Linked DNA regions of Homo sapiens: region 1 is linked to region 2. Evidence: promoter capture Hi-C in 16 types of primary human blood cells and fetal thymus (Javierre and others, 2016). All regions are on one chromosome and are shown on one strand. The core of a region is centred on a gene start or on the middle of the fragment in contact, and the rest is flanking DNA. Distances in the headings are between cores, read along the strand shown. Region 1 overlaps TMEM178B (transmembrane protein 178B). Region 2 holds the start of AGK (acylglycerol kinase).

What was found. The method cuts DNA at HindIII sites, captures the fragments that hold promoters and counts their contacts. A CHiCAGO score of 5 or more calls a contact.
Region 1: a contact is called between a fragment that was not itself captured here and the fragment with the promoter of AGK in region 2, in 1 of 17 cell types (endothelial precursors). The highest score is 6.5, in endothelial precursors.

Annotation. Positions count from the first base shown.
Region 1 is chr7:141,078,525-141,081,224 of GRCh38, reverse strand. The region is part of intron 1 of TMEM178B (transmembrane protein 178B); the gene reads right to left. Among named protein-coding and RNA genes, the nearest start is that of TMEM178B, 5.8 kb to the right of the region's middle. The HindIII fragment of the contact is 644 bases long and covers 934-1,577 here.
Region 2 is chr7:141,549,990-141,552,689 of GRCh38, reverse strand. AGK (acylglycerol kinase) reads right to left here and starts at 1,280. Exons shown (of 16, transcript NM_018238.4): 1 at 1,256-1,280. It overlaps AGK-DT (AGK divergent transcript), which reads left to right and starts at 1,346. Exons shown (of 6, transcript NR_183408.1): 1 at 1,346-1,546. RefSeq lists silencers at 1,036-1,215, 1,396-1,485. The HindIII fragment of the contact is 2,342 bases long and covers 578-2,700 here.

The DNA.
Region 1 (2,700 bases), core at 6-2,505, 470 kb after region 2:
TGGGATCATCAATCTCGCTGTCTTCCACCTCCACATTTTAGCCCACTGGAAAGTCTTCAGGGGCAATGGTGCACATGGAGCTGTCACCTCCTGATAACAATGCCTTCTTCTGGAATACCTCCTGAAGGACCCACCTGGGGCTGTTTTACAGTTAACTTTTTTTTATAAGCAGAAGGAGTACACTCTAAAACAATGATTAGAAGTATAGCATAGTAAATATATAAACCAGTAACAGTCATTTTATTATCAAGTATTACATACTGTACATAATTGTTTGTGCTAGACTTCTATACCGCCGGCAGTGCAGTAGCTTTGTTTACACCAGCCTCAACCCAAACACAGGAGTAATGGGTTGCTGCACTGTGACATCTATGATGTCACTAGGCCATAAGAATTTTTCAGCTCCATGATAACCTTATGAGACCACTGCAGTCTGTCTTTAACCAAAATGTTACAGGGCACATGACTGCATTTCATTTTTGCCTTACTTGTCATTCTTCCCCTTTGCGCTTCGTAAGGGCAGACCTTCATGGTGCCCATTACCCTGTGCTATATTACACGATTCATATATTAGATATTATTTTTACTCTATGACTATTTTTCTTCAGATGGAGTCTCGCTCTATCACCCAGGCTGGGGTGCAGTAGCACGATCTCGGCTCACTGCAACCTCCGCTTCCTGGATTCAAGCCATTCTCCTGCCTCAGCCTCTCGAGTAGCTGGGATTACAGGCATGCGCCACCACACCCAGCTAATTTTTGTATTTTCTGTAGACACAGGGTTTCAACCATGTTGGCCAGGATGGTCTCAATCTCTTGACCTCGTAATCCGCCCTCCTCAGCCTCCCAAAATTCTGGGATTACAGGCGTGCGCCACCGTGCCCAGCCGTGGAGTATTTATTTATTGTCCGTCTCTCCCCTCTGGAATGTAAGCTTCTCCATTTGGTCCAACACTGTACCTGATGCACAGCCCAAAGGCCCTCAATAAATACTTGTTGAATGAATGAATGTGTCCTTCATGTCTATAATTTCAGCATCTACCACAGCAAGCGAAGTAAATAAGCAAAAGTTATATGACAAAATGTGTATGCACTTTGGTCAGTGAGCTTCAAAACAGGGTGTGTGAGCCACTCTCATTACTTCAATTTAGAATTGAGATTCCAAGAGTATTATTTCCTTTTTATTCTCAATTTGTGGAATCAATATCCCAGTTTCTTCTCCACCTCACTCCTGCCCCGATAGATTCTAAGATGATGGTAGAGTGTGGTGGGTGAGTTCCCACATCCAGAGCCAGAATTCAAATTCTGACACCTTTGTTTCCTAACTAACTGTGAGAATTCACAAGTTATCTGACCTTTCTGTGCCTCAGTTCCCTCAAATTTAGGATGAGAATTTAAAATAATACTTATACTTCCTAGGGTTATTATGAACAATAAATTAGCTAATACATATAAAACTTTTAGGAGAGACCTGTCATCAAGATTGGCTATAATTATCATTAATCTCTTTCCCACCCCACCAACTTTGCAAGTGATGTTTAATGGAGATGGAGAGGGCAGGAGGGAAGAAGGGAGAAGCTTGTGAGAATTCTGTGAGTTGATGATAGAAAATTAAAATATAAATTTACTATAATTGACCATGAACTAAAGCCTTCTGCCCAATATATTCAAGTAGCAGTTTCTTAAAGTGTAGAATGATATACTTAAATTTAAACCCAAGTTATCATGGAATTATACTCATCTGAAACAAAGTTATGTGCTTGGTTCTTTTAGAGGCTATAGGCTCTGCGTGGCGCTGTCCAACAGAATTTTCTCCGATGGTGGGAATGTTCACTGTAATCTGCACTGTCCCATACAATAGCCAGTAGGCACATACGGCTACTGAACATTTGAAATGTGGCCAATACAACTACGGAAATAATTTTTGTTTGTTTGTTTTTTGAGACAGAGTCTCGCTCTGTCACCCAGGCTGGAGTGCAACGGCATGATACCAGATCACCGCAACCTCTACCTCCTAGGTTCAAGCGATTCTCCTGCCTCAGCCTCCTGAGTAGCTGGCATTACAGACACACACCACCATGCCCAGCTAATTTTTGTATTTTTACTAGAGATGGGTTTTCACCATGTTGGCGAGGCTGGTCTCGAACTCCTGAACTCAAGTGATTCACCTGCCTCGGCCTCCCAAAGTGCTGGGATTACAGGCGTGAACCACTGTGCCCAGCCTATTTTATTTAACTTTGGTTATTGTTAACTTGAACAGCCACATGTGGGTTGTGGCTCCCCAACTGGGCAGCATAGCTGTAGGGGATTTGATATACGAGCTCCCTGACTTGGTCCATGGCTGCTCTCCAGCTCCTGGTCTGCTCCTTCTCCTTGCCCCAGAAATCAACACTCACAAGGCCAAACTGCTGTTCCACACCTCTATGGCTGTGCATATGCTGGCCCATTGCCTGAAATATCCTTCCTCCACATCCACCTCCAAACCTTATCAAACATCTTGTTCAGATTTCATTTCCTCAGGACAACTTTCCCTAACCTCCTCCTGCCTACCTCCCGCTACTGCCGACACAATCCACCATCACTTTCTCTGTGTTCCTCTGCATCTGTTTCTGTTGCTGCTCTCATCATCCTGTAGTTGTAACCTATTTTCTCTGACACTAACAGACTATGCAAATTCTGAGGACCAGATCTTATGCATTTCTT
Region 2 (2,700 bases), core at 31-2,530:
GAAGACACAAAGTGACTTTCCTGCTTCAGTTGTTTCCTCTAATGCCAACGAGTCATATTTTGCGGCAGTGTGTCCTGAATCTCATCAACAGCGGAGTAAAAATTGGAGTGTCTAGAACAGGGGTTCTCAACCTTTAGTGCAGAACTTGTTAAAAACACAGAATCCTGGGAACTGCCCCTTCCCGCAAGAGTCTCATTTGTTCTGGAATTAAGCTGTCATCTTCACTTGTTAACAAGTACTCCCATGTTGGTTGCAATGGAGGTCACCACTATACCAGACTTTGAGAAACAGTGGTTTAGAGATAAAGGATTGAAGACCAGGTGGGATTAGAAAAGACCTTGAACCCACACTAAGGACTTTGGCTATTATTTTGAAGACAATGAAAAACCTTTAATGGGCTTTAAGCAGGTGAGTGATATAATCATATTTGAACTGTTAAAAGACCACTTTATAGCAGAATGAAAAATGAACTGGAAGAAGCTAAAATTAAAGCTAAAGAGAACCATTAGGAAGTTATTGCCATAATCTGTAGGCTCCTAAAAGAACAAACCAAGATAAAGGATGGATTTGGAAAGCTTTAGAAAGTAGAAATTGGCAGCAGTTGGTGGTCCATTGACTGTAGTAAGTGAGAGAGGAGGAACCAAGCCAGGTTTTTGTGCTTGGGTGACTGGTTGAATAGTGATTTCAGTCATTTAGATTTGAGTGGTAGGTTTGTGGAGAAAAGTAGTGCGGTTTAGGAGATACTGAATTTGACACGCCTGTGGAGTATCCAGGTGGAAATGTTTTTCTTACTAGATAGTGAACCCCTCATGGGCAAGTTCGTCTATCCATCTGCAGCACCAGAACCTAGTAAAGCGCCAGAATGAATGAACCAACCAACCCATCAATGGATCTGATACTATTGGCCCCATTTTGCAAAGGGCTATGCTGAAGCCCAAGGGACGAAGTGAGGGGGGTCCACAAGTTAGCGACAGCTCTGGGACTCGAACCCAGGACAGCTGACTCCCGCCGTGACCACGGGATCCGCGCGAGGCCCTCCCCTGCCGCGCCGGCCAGGCCCGCACCCCCTACCCTCAAGCCGCGCCGCCGCCTGCACCCACGACCCCTGATGCTTGGGTCCCCGCGGCTCTCGGCCCAGCGCGACTCCAGAGGCTCCGCCCAGCGCCCCGGGCCCCCATCCCGACTCCCACCCCGCTCGCGCGCTCAGTCCCAGCGACCCGCACTGCGCTCCCCGCCTGGGCGCCGCTGCACTCACCACGGCTGGTCCAGCTCGCGGCTCTGCCTTTCCTGTGTGCTCCCTCCAGATTCCCCGGCTCGTTCAAGGGAAACCGCTGCCGCCGCCCTCGGGTTCCGCCGCGGGGCTGCGAGCGCGCGCGGGCCAGTTCGGGCCGGGGGCGGGAACCGGCTCGGATGCTCAGGGACGGTGGGGGTGGCAGGGCCCACCGGCTTGAGGCTGCCTTTCCCGGCGTTCCCTCGTTTATTGGCTCACTCTTCCTTTCATCCATCCATCCTTTGCGCAACAATATTTGATGGGAAGCCTGCCAAGGTAACACTGTTTTAGCACCTGGAACTAAGTCGGAAAATAAATTAACTAAATGAACAAGGCCATTGGAGATGGTGCTCCGTGCCACGAAGAAAATGAAACGAGGTGATGGAAGGCAGTGCGGGAAGGGGGAGAACTGTGTGAAATTAGGCGGCCTGCGCTAGGCCTTCTGAGTAAGGGGCCATTGGTCTGAGACCTGGATGTCAAGAAGGAGCAGCTGAAGCAAAGATCCAGGGGAGAGAGCCTGGAGAGGGAAGGGCCCGTGCAAAAGCTGAAAAGCCTGGGGCACTCTGGCGAGTTGCAGGCCAGTGTGGGTGAGACAGAGAGAGCTAAGGAGACAGGCCAAGCGAGGAAGCTGGAGAGGTGGAGACAGGCCACGGCGGCCAGGAGTTTGGACATGACATTAAACAGGGCGAGAAGACATTGCGGGGGTGCAATCAGGGGCTGGTGGGACTGGTTTCCATTTCACACAGCTCTCTGGCCACAGGTGCTTGATTGGATTCTAGAGAACAAGAGAGCAACGGAGAAGCTAGGCCAATGCCAACCTCCAGACAGTTTACATTCTGTACTCGCCCACCAGATTGGTGTGGGGACAAAGCCAGGTCCTTCTTCTTTCCAGCATTCAGTCTGCCAACTTTTTTTTTTTTTTAGACAGGGTCTCACTCTGTGGCTCAGGCGCTAGTGCAGTGGTGCAATCTCAGCTCACTGCAGCCTCTGCTTCCCGGGTTCAAGCAATTCTTGTGCCTCAGCCTCCCGAGTAACTGGGATTACAGGTGTGTGCCACCAGGCCCAGCTAAATTTTTTTGTATTTTTAGTAAAGACGGGGGTTTTGTCACGTTGGCCAGGCTGGTCTCGAACTCCTGACCTCAAGCGATCTGCCCGCCTTGGCCTCCCAAAGTGCTACGATTATAGGCATGAGCCATCGCACCCGGCCAGTCAACCAACATTTGAGTGTGCACTAGGCCCTGCATCAGGCACTGGGGGTATGCTCAGGTACAAGGCCCTTCATGGTTCCTGCCCCATGGAGCTTGCTATCTAGTCTGCACATTTCCTACGTGTAGACATGCATCCTACCTATGTCTCCCTAGGTGAATGCTTCAAAAAAAAAAGGCCGGGGCGGGGACCTTCAATGAGGCTATGGTGCAGTAAACATATTC